Linked DNA regions of Homo sapiens: all the other regions are linked to region 1. Evidence: promoter capture Hi-C in 16 types of primary human blood cells and fetal thymus (Javierre and others, 2016). All regions are on one chromosome and are shown on one strand. The core of a region is centred on a gene start or on the middle of the fragment in contact, and the rest is flanking DNA. Distances in the headings are between cores, read along the strand shown. Region 1 holds the start of FAM78A (family with sequence similarity 78 member A). Region 2 overlaps TTF1 (transcription termination factor 1). Region 3 overlaps SETX (senataxin).

Region 1 (4,057 bases), core at 829-3,328:
AGAACAGAAAGGCAGCACCCCCTCCCCCGAACTGGATTACTAGCTGCTCTTGAGACACAAAGGGGTTGGCACAGAAATCAGGCTGGTGGAGAGGGCCGGTGAGAGCCTCTAGATGTGCCCCCCATGTACCTCTTTGGGACAGTCACTGTCACACGCTGGACTTAAGGGTTACTGTGATCCTCATGTTTCCTTTAGAACTTTGGAGTCATTAAGTAGAGAAGCCACCAGACTTGGTGTCCCGCCATCCTCCACCCCTCTCATTTACAGGTGGCCCATGAGATTCTTAAATCTGTGATAAGTTCCAGCTCCTGGGGAAATTCTCCTCTTTTCCCCACTTGCAAAACGGGGACGTGAAGCTGCACAGGGTAGACACTGAGAGAGGCTCTGGGAGTGTCAGCGGCCAGTCACGGGGCCACAGGGTAGACACTGAGAGAGGTTCTGGGAGTGTCAGCGGCCAGTCACGGGGCCGCATGGGTGGGCTGCCCGCCGGGGCCTGCCTAGCTCTCTCCAAAGGGTCCTTACGCTCAGAAACAGCTATTTTCACCATCCCTGTCTTAGGGTGAACCTTCAGATTAAGTCACTCTCCCAACTCTGCCTAAATGCAGCTCTTTTCACCCTGGGGACGGCCTTCTCTGGGGTCAGGAAGCAGGCCAGGAAAGGAGCCCCAGGGTCCCAGGGTCCTCACCGGGACCCCCAATACCCTAGGCACACTCTGGAGACCGGGCTTTGGGGCTGCAGAGGAGAGGCTCCTCTTTGCTGTTCCTGTTAGGGCCTCGCCAGAGGGACACTGGACTTGTCTGCATAAAGCGGTCTTCTGCCTTGGAGACAGAAAGCGATACACTGTGAAGAAATCGGGCTTCTAAAACTAACTGTGCTCTCAAACACAGTGCCGTTTGGAACGGGGAAGCACTCCCCCAGCTCCTGGCATACACTGGTAAAAGCCAGAAAGATAATTGAGGCCCAATCGCAAAGCCCTGAACACACCGGTCTGGGAGTTGCAGAGTGCCTGAATGTCTGCCATGGGCCCGCACAGGGCCAGAGGCCTGGAGGGCAGCCCTGCAGCCTCTCTGGTGACCCCTGATGGCACAGACACTCCTCAGGCGGACGGCACACTTGCTCTGCCAGGAAACACTGGGAGTAATGTCTCTCTGCTTTCTCGGCATCTTGCAGGGAAGGACACAGGAACCCGGGGGGAACAGTGGCAGGGTAGATTGCAGGACCGTGACTCCAATCTGGATCCACAGGCAAACTTTTCAGGGAGCCACCGGGCCAATGAGGCCACCTGCATACCTGCCTAAAGCTTCCCTCTGGCCTCCGTCCTGTCTTCATGGTATCTCCACCTTCCCCCTATCCGCGGCCCCCCACCAGGCCTCCAAGCTCGGCCATCCCTAGCAGTTCCCAGAGCTGGCTCTCGGCCGTACTCACATGCCCTGCTCGCCGTACTGGTTGTAGAACTCCATGTGGCTGCACGCCTGGATCCAGCCAACTACCCAAGTCTCCTTCTTGGGGATGGGCGGCATGACCACCTGGGCCGAGGCCCGGAAGTGGGGTGTCCGGTAGCGGAGCACCACGCTGGAGGACTCATCGATGCTAGTGGGGACGGGGTCGATGGAGGCTTTCACATCAATCACCGTGATCCCTTCCCGGAAGACTCTGGCTTTGCCTCCGATGCTCTGAATACAGCCCATGGCATACAGGAGCGCTCTGATCTCCAGGGAAGGCCAGCAGTCACAGAAAAAACCAGGCATTGAAAGGACAGAGGCTGCAGGACCCAGTACAGACGGCGCTGCTCTCCAATCTCAACTCTCAAGACCGATATCCATAGGATAGAAAACTCACTGAGTAGACTGGGGTTGCATATATCACTACCGCGGCCTGTTTATAAATAAGGATTCTGCTGCATTTCATGAGCCCTGGGCTCTCTCTTCTTCTCCTCGCAGTGGACAAAAATCACCGATATTCTTTGGGTTAAAAAAAGTTTGTAGTTTAATGAATAATTATGCGGTTCTGACATCCAGCCCTTCTGTGCCTCACACGCGGGGACGGCAGCTCGCAGACTCTCCCTGAAGTCTTCGGAGGAAGCAGGCGAGCGCCGGCAGACTCATAAATAAGGAAGGCTCTGTCCCCGCGCGGCCGCGCCACCCTCGCGGCAGAAGCCTGACTTCCTGCCCTCCGGCCTTCCGCACGCGCTCCCTCCGGGCCCCGCACCCGCACCCGCCCGGCGCGGTCGAATCAATTGCAGAGCAGTTTGTGTTCACCCGGCCGAGGTCCCGGCGCCCTCGGGGCGAGCGCCGACCCGCGGCTTCCAGGAGGCGAGCTCAGGGCTCCGGCCGCTCGCCGGTGACGGGGGAGCGCGGCGCGGGTCCCCGTCGGCGCCCACTCGCGGGCGCGGGCCGGACGTCCCCACGCAGGGGCGCCGCGTCCCTTCGCCGCTGTCGCTGCCGGCCGCCGTGCAGGGTCCCGGGGCTGCGCTCCGGCCGCCGCCGCCTGCTTCGCCGCGGCCGCCGAGGACCTGGTGGGAGGTGGAAGGGACAGCGCGTCAAGGCCAGCCTCAAAGTTAAGCCGAACTTTGCTGCGGGGGGCGCGCGGGGGCGGCGACGCGTGTGCGCTGGGCGCGGGCTGCGGAGCTGACGGCGCAGCTCTGGGCGGTCTCCCCGGAGGCGGTGGCCCCCGCCCCCCGCGCCCGCCCCGTCAGTGGCGGCCGCACGACCGCGCGCACCAGCGAATAATAGCCGCCCGTGACATCTCCGCTGATACCGTCCCGGACGGGCGGGGTGGGGGGCGAGCGGCTGCCGCTGCAGGGGGCGGCGAGCACTTGCCCTGCTCTGTCCCCACCGCCGCGCCGCCAGCGCCAGGTGCCCCTTCCCCACCCCGGTCCCTCCGGCTCCCTGGGCGCAGGGCCACCCACCAGTGCCGTCGGATCCGGCGGGCACCCCTTTCCCGGCTGGGGTCCCTCGGCCCTCGGAGGGCATAGTGCCCCCGCTCCGCCGCGTCAAGCGCCTCTGTCGCCCCTCTCCAGCCGCGAGCAGCCCCGGGTCCCCACGCGTCGGGCGCGCTCGCCGCTGCCGGGGAACTTTGGCGCGCACGCCCCCACTCGGGCGGCGCCGCCGACTCACCTGCCCCGGGGGCCACTCCGCTGGCCCGGGCAGCCGCTCTCCGGACGCCCCTGACCCGGCCGCGGGCACGTTCTTGGGGCGCCCCCACCCCCTTCCCCGGGCACTGTCCCTTGGCTCTACTGGAGTCTGGGGCCGGCGTGGGCGCCCCCGGCCCCCACCCTCCTCCCGGCTTGGGGCTTCGGGGGGGCGGCCGGGGGCGGAGGGCTGAGGCTCGGGGCTCTCTCGCCCCCACCCCGCGCGCCTCCTTTATTTTATGATCATTGTGAGCGCGCTGTCGCCGCTCAGCCCCGCCGCCGCGCCGCTGCCGCCTGGCGCGCCCCGCGCTGCCTCGCTCTGCTGCAGCATCGGAAAGGCAACCGGGTCAAACTTTGCAGAAACTCGGCCCCTGCGCCGGCCCGGCCCCCGCGTCCGCTCGCCGCCGCCGCCGGCCGAGCGCAGCCGGCGCACGCAGGGACCGCCGCCCGCTCGCCGGCCCCGCGGGGATGCAGGTCCGCAGGCGGCGGCGGCGGCGGCGGGCGGGCGCCGCCTCCTCCTCCCCGCCCGCCTGGCTCTCCACCCTCGCTCCCCGCACACAGCCCGCCCTCCCCCTGGTAATCCCTCGCTCCCCCTCGCTCCCTGTCTCTGCAGCTGCTCGGGGAGCTGAGCCTCTCCTTGAACAAACGACATTTCCTTTTTGGCCAGCCCCGGGAATTCTGGGTAGTGTAGTTCCGCTGCTGTCTCGGGGCCAGGTGGGCTGCTCCCAGTGCCCTTTGAACTCTATGGACCAGAGGCTTTCTGGGGTTCGGAGCACCCGCAGAAGGGCTCCCTTGCCCTGGGGTTCCTGACCGCAGGGAGACAGTGGCTTGGTGGAGACAGCGCGGGGGCTTTGTAGGCTCCAAGGCTGGGAAGGTCGCGGGGAGGGGAGAGCAGTTTGGGGAGAGGTGGGTCCCCTCGAGCAGGTC
Region 2 (4,057 bases), core at 1,164-3,663, 1.1 Mb after region 1:
CTCTATCTTAGAGTTTTGAGATTCGTAAATCTGAAATAGGTAATCAGTTCATCAGTTACCCCCTACCTGGATTTTGTGGGGCCCTTTTATTTATTTTTATTTAATTTATTTTCTTGAGACAGGGTCTCACTCTGTCACCCAGGCTGGAATGCAGTGGCGTGATCTCGGGTCACTGCAACTTCTGGCTCCCAGGCTCAAGCGATCCTCCCACTTCAGCCTCCAGAGTAGCTGGGACAACAGGCATGTGTCACCACGTGCAGCTTAATAATCAGTTTTTAAACATGTAATTTTATTTAAAACCATAAAAACCCATTTTAGTTTTAAAAATCATGTGATCTGAAGAAATGTCACAAAGCATACACAAATTTAATGGAAAAGCTGAATTTTTTTTTTTTTTGAGATGGAGTCTGGCTCTGTGGCCCAGGCTGGAGTGCAGTGACGCAATCTCGGCTCACTGCAACCTCCTCCTCCTGGGTTCAAGCAATTCTGCCTCAGCCTCCCCAGTAGCTGGGATTACAGGTACCTGCTACCACGCCCAGCTAATTTTTGTATTTTAGTAGAGATGGGGTTTCACCATGTTGGGCAGGTTGGTCTCAAACTCCTGACCTCAAGCAATCCACCCGCCTTGGCCTCCCAAAGTGCTGGGATTACAGGCGTGAATCACCACGCCCGGCCGAAAAGTTGAATTTTTAAAAAGTGGTTTGACATTATAAAGGGCTTTGTCAATGTAAGTCGTTCTCAAGATGGGAGCTGGTGGGGTGCACATCAGCGTCACCTCCTTCAAAGCACCTGGCACCCTCCCTGCTTGGGGCCTATGATGCTGAAGAGTGGGCACCCTGCCCCTCAGATGAGCTAGAAAAGAAAAGACTTTGGGACCACGGCATGTATCTGTGAGTCCTGGCAGGGCCTGGACTAAGAATTTCCAATTCTCCACATTCAAGAAGGAAGAGACGGATTGTCCTTTCTTGTTTGGTTATAATCCCAAACCATAAATAACTAACCACCAGAACCAGTTTAAACCCTCCCTAATGGTTCCGCAGAATATTGACTAGAAACAAAACAAAATCTTTCCTAATGGACCAATGGCGACCTCACACCAGTAGCCACACTTCTGGAAGTCAGCCAGGCTGCAGCAGCCTCACCCCACTGTCTACCTTCCAAAACCAAAGGCCAAACAATCCCTCAACATCCCTGCATCTGAAAGTCACTGATCCCCGAGCCCCATGATGCTCGGCAACACGTAGAGGGCCTGTGCTCTGCAGCCCAGCTCTCCCTTGCGTAGCAAGCAGTAAGTTGAGATATCGAGAGTGGTGGGCCCTCCAATCGCAGGAACTGATTAAAATGCAAGAGCTATGTGCAGTGAAGGCTCACAGTGAAGGGAAAGAGAGACAGCTTATAAACACAAGAGCCATGTTCAATCTCACTTCTCACATGAGAAATGCAAATGAAAACCACAAGGAAACTGACAGAAGCTTAAAGAGGAACAGGATCTTTATATAGTCTTAAAATGTCTTCCCACAGCCATTTCTTACCACCAAAGGAAGAACCAGTATTTTTATACAGTGGGGAAAAGAGGCAGATGCTGCCTTAGCTAAATAATAAAAAAAAGTCAAAACGAGAATTATGTACCTTGTGACGTAATGCAGTGATAGCAAACATCAGGAATATGCTGTACTCCTGCCCGAAGGACACAGCCTGAATCTCCTCAAGAGGAAATACCAGACAAGTGCCAACTGCGGACATTCTACAAAACACCTAGCCTGTATTCCTCCAAAATTTCACTACCATCAACAGCAAAGATGGACGATCTTCATAGATTAAAAGACAGTAAGGAAGGCCGGGCATGGTGGCTCACGTCTGTAATCCCAGCACTTTGAGAGGGATTAAGGCCAGGAGTTCAAGCATAGCCTGGGCAACATGGCAAAACCCCATCTCTACTAAAAATACAAAAAAAAAAAAAAAAAAAAAAAGTCAGGTGTGGTGGCTCACGCCTGTAATCTCAGCAATTTGGGAGGCTGAGGTGGGTGGATCACTTGAGGTAAGGAGTTTGAGACCAGCCTGGCCAACATGGTGAAACCTTGTCTCTATTAAAAATACAAAAATTAGCCAGGTATGGTGGCAGGTACCTGTAATCCCAGCTATTCAGAGGCTGAGACAGGAGAACTGCTTGAACCCGGAAGGTGGAGGTTGCAGGGAACCGAGATCACGCTGTTGCACTCCAGCCTGGGCAACAAGAGTGAAAATCCGTCTCAAAAAAAAAAAAATTAACTAATTAAAAAAAAAACTAGCCAGGCAGGGTGGTGCATGCCTCTAATTCCAGCTATTTAGGTGGCTGAGGCACAAGAATTGCTTGAACCTGGGAGGCAGAGGGTGCAGTGAGCTGAGATCACACCATTGTAACTCCAGCCTGGGCAACAGAGTAAGACTCTTGTCTTCAAAAAAAAAAAAAAAAAGGACACTAAGGAAATGGAACAATTATTAAAGGGGGAAAATGCTATCAAGGACATTACTGGGACAACTGGTGAAATCTGAATGTGGACTATGTTTTAGAGGGTGTACTATATCAATGTGAAACTTCCTGATTCTCGATTGTACTATGGTTATGTAAAATAACATCCTTGCTTGGGAAGTGGTATCTGCCACTAACTCTTGAATGGTTATGGGAAAAACCGTATTCCCTTGGAGGAGGGAGAGAGGGATGATAAAGTGAACGTAGCAGAATGTTCAGAAGAGGCGACTATGGGTAAAGGGGATGCGGGGTTCTTTCTGTTACTCTTGCAACTTGTTTAGCTTTTTGAAGCCTTTAAGAGACTTTGCATACATTTCATTTGCCTTTCTTGGGTGTCTTCGGTGGCAGGTGGGCTGGAGGGAGGGCTGGTCTGATTTATTTGGTCCAGAGCACAGAGACTGGAAGTCTCGAATAAACACACACATTGCAGCTTTCCTGTTCTGTGGCGCTGGCACACCACCCTGCAACCACGCAGTGTTTCCTCACCCAAGACTGTATCTTGGCGCTTTCTTTGCCCCACCACCGAGGGGCTTTCTCATGATTTTTTGTAGCTATAAAGAATGTCACTATATGGGTAAAATACATATATAGCCAGTCCCCTATTAACAGGCCTTTTGCAGTCAGTTACTCTGTATACAAGTCATTTCATGTATGTGTGAAGTTGTTTTGTAGAATGTATTTCTAGAAATGGAATTACTAGAATTATTTGAATTTTGAATGGTACTAAGGCTGCAAAGTATGTAAAATTTACCAAAACAGATAACAGTAATTGGAGGGAGTGAATGTAGATGTTTAATAAGGACGGCTGGATTTTGACAGTTGCTGAACTGGGGTGATGGGTACATGAAGCTTCATTTATTTTGTATCTGTCTAAAATTTTCCTAATAAAGTTTCTGAAAAAAATAATTGGGCATTGCTAATAAAGCAGTACTTAGAAGAAAACATATGGCCTTAAATGTATATTACAAAGAAAGAAAAATGGAAAATGAGCTAAGAACCCATCTCAAGAAGTTGAAGAACAGCAGCAAAATAAACTCAAAGAGAGCTGAAGGGAGGGCGTGATAAAGAGCTGACATTAGAATAATCACAAGATAGGGTCAACGCAATCAAAGCTGGTGCTTTGAAAAGACAATCTCTGGTAACTCCTATTCAAGCAGTAACAAAAGAGAGTAGGTATAAATAGCCAACATTAGCCATCAGAACATCACTCAGATCCTGCAGACATTTTGCATAAACCATCTACGGAAAATAGATACTGGTTTCCTGTAGGGCTACGCGTGGCTGGTGAGTGGTAAGGGGACACTTTTCACTGTGTTTCCTTTCAGGTTTCTTTCTTTCTTTCTTTTCTTTTGAGATGGAGTCTTGCTCTGTTGCCCAGGCTGGAGTGCAATGGCATGATCTCGGCTTACTGCAACCTCCGCCTCCTGGGTTCAAGCGATTCTCCTGCCTCAGCCTCCTGAGTAGCTGGGACTACAGGCACCTGCCATCATGCCTGGCTAATTTTTGTATTTTTGTAGAGACGGAGTTGAACCATGTTGGCCAGGCTGG
Region 3 (4,057 bases), core at 560-3,059, 1.1 Mb after region 1:
CCTGTAATCCCAGCACTTTGAGAGGCTGAGGTGGGCGGATCACCTGAGGTCGGGAGTTCAGAACCACCCTGACCAACACGGAGGAACCTCGTCTCTACTAAAAATACAAAAATAGCCAGGCGTAGTGGTGCATGCCTGTAATCCCATATTCGGGAGGCTGAAGCAGGAGAATCGCTTGAACCCAGGAGGCGGAGGTTGCAGTGAGCCAAGATCACGCCACTGCACTCCAGCCTGGGCAACAACAGGGAAACTCCATCTCAAACAAAAAACCAAACAAACGAAAAAAAACAAGAAAACAAAAAATAGTATGCTATGTTTAAACACTTTTTATTTTTTTTTGAGACAGAATCTCGCTGTCGCCCAGGCTGGAGTGCAATGGCGTGGTCTCAGCTCACCGCAACCTTGGCCTCCCAGGTTCAAGCGATTCTCCTGCCTCAGCCTCCTGAGTAGCTGGGATTACAGGCGCCCACCACCACGCCTGGCTAATTTTTGTATTTTAGTAGAGACGGACTTTCACCATGATGGCCAGGCTGGTCTCAAACTGCTGACCTCGTAATCCACCTGCCTCAGCATCCCAAAGTGCTGGGATTACAGGTGTAAGCTACAGCACTCAGCCTTAAACACTTCTCTTGTAGAAGTTTTCTATAAATATCTCAACATCCCTATCAACTACATTCAAAAAAAAAAAAAAGAGAAGCTGGAGCCTCTCTGTCAAATGCAAAACCGAGGCCCTTCTATGTCTTCCCTTCTATGTTCTAGCCATAGCTAACTACCTTAGTGCAGCTTGTGGTATAAAAGACGCTGGATAGCTTCATAATTAGAAAACTTTATAAAGTGCACGTTTCTCAACACAAGTCCATTACTAATCATCCTCTCCTCTATATACTGTATATATCTCTATGGTCTACGTTCTGTTTTTCATCAATAAATAAACCAAATATTCAAAGCCAAATATTTAGAATTATATCTTTCACTTTTGTTATCATGACTGGAAAATATGCTTGCCCTTAAAGGTTTATGCCATTTGCCCATTAAAAAAAGAAAAAAAGAAGTTATTATTACCAATTAAAAAAAAAAAACCCTGGCCAGGCGCAGTGGCTCACAGCTGTAATCCCAGCACTTTGGGAGGCCGAGGTGGGCAGATCACCTGACGTCAGGAGTTTTGAGACCAGCTGGGCCAACATGGTAAAACCCCATCTCTACTAAAAATAAAAAATTAGCCGGGTGTGGTGGCACGTGCCTTTAGTCCCAGCTACTTGGGAGGCTGAGGCAGGAGAATCGCTTGAACCCACCTGGGAGGCAGAGGTTGAAGTGAGCCAAGATCACGCCACTGCACTCCAGCCTGGACAAGAGAGTGAGACTCTGTCTCAAAAAAAAAACAAAACAAAAAAAAAACAACCCACTAACAAAAACCCAGGCCATTCAGATACTCAGATACATGCATGTATTATAGCACTGACCAAAAAATTATGAAACAAATCCCCTCCCAATGACTTTATTTCATTAAATTATTTTATACCAATGTGACTAAAAGCAACAGATCATAAAATTCTGATCCAGGTTTCAATTCCATCCGTGATAAACATTTACTCAGCACCTAGTATATACCAGGCAATGAGTTAGGTACTTGACTTATATTAGCCTTCAAAGTCGGCCAGGCATGGTGGCTCATGCCTGTAATTCCAACACTGGGGGGCCAAACCGGAAGGATCACTTGAGCTCAGGAGTTCAGGACCAGCCTGGGCAAAATAATAAGACCTCGTCTCTACAAAAAAATTTTAAAAATTAGCAGAGCATGGTGGCACATGCCTGTAGTCCCAGCTACTCAGGAGGATGAGGTGGGAGGATGGCTTGAGTCCAGAAGGTTGAGGCTGCAGTGAACCGTGATCGCACCACTGCACTTCCAGCCTGGGCAACAGAGCAAAGACCTTGTCTCCAAAACATAGCAAAACAAACTATGAAAACCCATGTGGCCCATGGAAAATCATGAGACAGCACTTCCACTTTCAGGAATTTGTCCTAAGAATATACTCGAATGTGTAAAATGATATATGTATAATCACTCCACTGCACTCCAGCCTGAGTGACAGAGTGAGACTCCATCTCTAACAACAACAAAAACAAAACAAAAACAAAAAAAAAAACCCACAAAGTTGAAATCGTATCATCATTTCTCTGAATACTTCCAACGGAGTTCAAACTTACTCTCTTCCCAGCTATCAAGCTCTGAAAAATATTGCCCATCTAATATATTTTACCTCATGCAAGAATGGCAATTCATCTCTTGCTTTGTGGTACTCAGCCACACACTCCAAGCAGTAGCAGAGGTCTTCGTCGGCTGTTTGAAATTCACCGGACGGAGTGTTGGAAGCATAGCGCTTTAGGAAGTCAATGGTGGAAGCACCACCTGGCGTACACCAACAACATGTGCTCATTCTGTACCTACAGCCAGAAAAGATGACATCAAGAAGAAAACCAACTTCAGACCTACTGTGTGTCAAGAATAGGTACACTTTCAACTTGTGACCCTGGTTTCAATTTAAAATGTGTCACTAAAACCCAAATCTTCTGCTGGCTGGCTTATCAATCACTGATTCACTAAACTAAAAAAATCCTTCTATTTTTGACATACGAAAAATACAGAAAAATAAAAGCATTGTATAAGGAATAAGTATCATAAGGCAACATAAAGTTGTGCTACAGAGAAGGCTCAAAACAACACAGTACCGATAGAAAATATATAGAGACCCAGACTTACCAATATTTTCAAAGTACAGATTTTGGAATGGGGAAAAAAGTTACCAACTACAAACTTAAGTTCATTTCATAAACTGAATGGACCTAGCTCAGCATTCTCATCAGGAGTGATGTCACCCTCAAAGAGATCTAAAACTAGTTAGTGGGACGTGAAAAAGCCCTCCTCTTTTTAGATATAAAGCTCAGATAAACATACAGTACATAAAGAGAGACACAATATATTGGTGGTAATAAAATTCACAGGAGAGGCAGTTTTTAAAAATGTTTAAAAACTCTCCACTCAGGGAGAAAGGTTAGAAGGAGGTTAAAAAACCTAAGTAAGCTGGGAACGGTGGCTCATGCCTGTAAGCCCAGCACTTTGGGAGGCCGACGTGGGCAGACTGCTTGAGGTCCGCAGTTCGAGACCAGCCTGGCCAACATGGTGAAACCCCATCTCTACTAAAAAGAATACAAAAATTAGCTGGTGGTGCGCATCTGCAATCCTAGCTGCTTGGGAGGCTGAGGCAGGAGTACTGCCTGAACGTGGGAGGCAGAGGTTGCAGTGAGCCAAGATTGCGCCACTGCACTCCAGCCTGGGTGACAGAGTGAAACTCTGTCTCAAAACAAACAAACAAAAGAAACCTAAGTGAAGACACTGAGTATGTGGGAATGGAAACATGGCAGTGTGAGATTTTTGAGTATCACCGTCACCCTAAAATTCAGAATACATAATCTTTACCAACAGGAAATATAAAACATCTCAACAGAAACTAGGCTTGGCTGCTGAGGCTTCTGTGGCATAAAGCTAGTTCCTAAAATAAAGTGATTTTTTAAAATTCTTTAATTTCTTCTTATACCCACAATTAAATAATTATTTAGAAATGCATAAGCATAATCAAATACATTGTCATATGAATTGATTTTTTAAAATTTATTAAATATTACTTTTACTTATGCTTTTGAAGAGGTATACTTTCTTCATGGTTCTAAAAAGAATTTAGGGTAGCTTTCAACATTAAAGTACATACACACAAAAGGACATTTAAAAATGAGATTTCAAAAAACAAAATCAAAACTTCTTTAGAAGAAATTTAATTTCACTAAGTTCTACATGAGGAGCTTCCTGAAAGCAGAGAAAAAGGATAACATGAGTTACACAGTTCTCATCGACGTGGGGGGGAAAAAGAGTATGCAGTGATAGCCGCAGAGTACCGCCCTTTCCTGACACAAACTCTAACTCAATTACATTTTATTAATGCCTTCTAGTACAAGGGCACTGCAGACTAGGAAATGCCAAGTAACATGGGATAAGGTCTTCAAT

Evidence for each region. Contacts are between HindIII fragments. The CHiCAGO score rates a contact against its expected background, and 5 or more counts as called.
Region 2: a contact is called between a fragment that was not itself captured here and the fragment with the promoter of FAM78A in region 1, in 1 of 17 cell types (total B cells). The highest score is 5.9, in total B cells.
Region 3: a fragment that was not itself captured here is called in contact with the fragment with the promoter of FAM78A in region 1 in 1 of 17 cell types (total CD8 T cells); the score reaches 6.2 in total CD8 T cells.

What each region holds. Positions count from the first base shown.
Region 1 is chr9:131,274,432-131,278,488 of GRCh38, forward strand. FAM78A (family with sequence similarity 78 member A) reads right to left here and starts at 2,079. Exons shown (of 2, transcript NM_033387.4): 1 at 1,426-2,079. The coding sequence starts at 1,748. RefSeq lists enhancers at 559-618, 794-1,406, 819-868, 899-948, 1,109-1,608 and 3 more and a silencer at 2,249-3,428. The HindIII fragment of the contact is 5,571 bases long and covers 1,299-4,057 here.
Region 2 is chr9:132,380,815-132,384,871 of GRCh38, forward strand. The region is part of intron 9 of TTF1 (transcription termination factor 1); the gene reads right to left. Among named protein-coding and RNA genes, the nearest start is that of TTF1, 24 kb to the right of the region's middle. RefSeq lists enhancers at 1,447-1,606, 3,024-3,073. The HindIII fragment of the contact is 1,886 bases long and covers 1,471-3,356 here.
Region 3 is chr9:132,346,994-132,351,050 of GRCh38, forward strand. SETX (senataxin) reads right to left here. Exons shown (of 26, transcript NM_015046.7): 3 at 2,259-2,442. The coding sequence starts at 2,435. Among named protein-coding and RNA genes, the nearest start is that of SETX, 6.0 kb to the right of the region's middle. The HindIII fragment of the contact is 4,966 bases long and covers 1-4,057 here.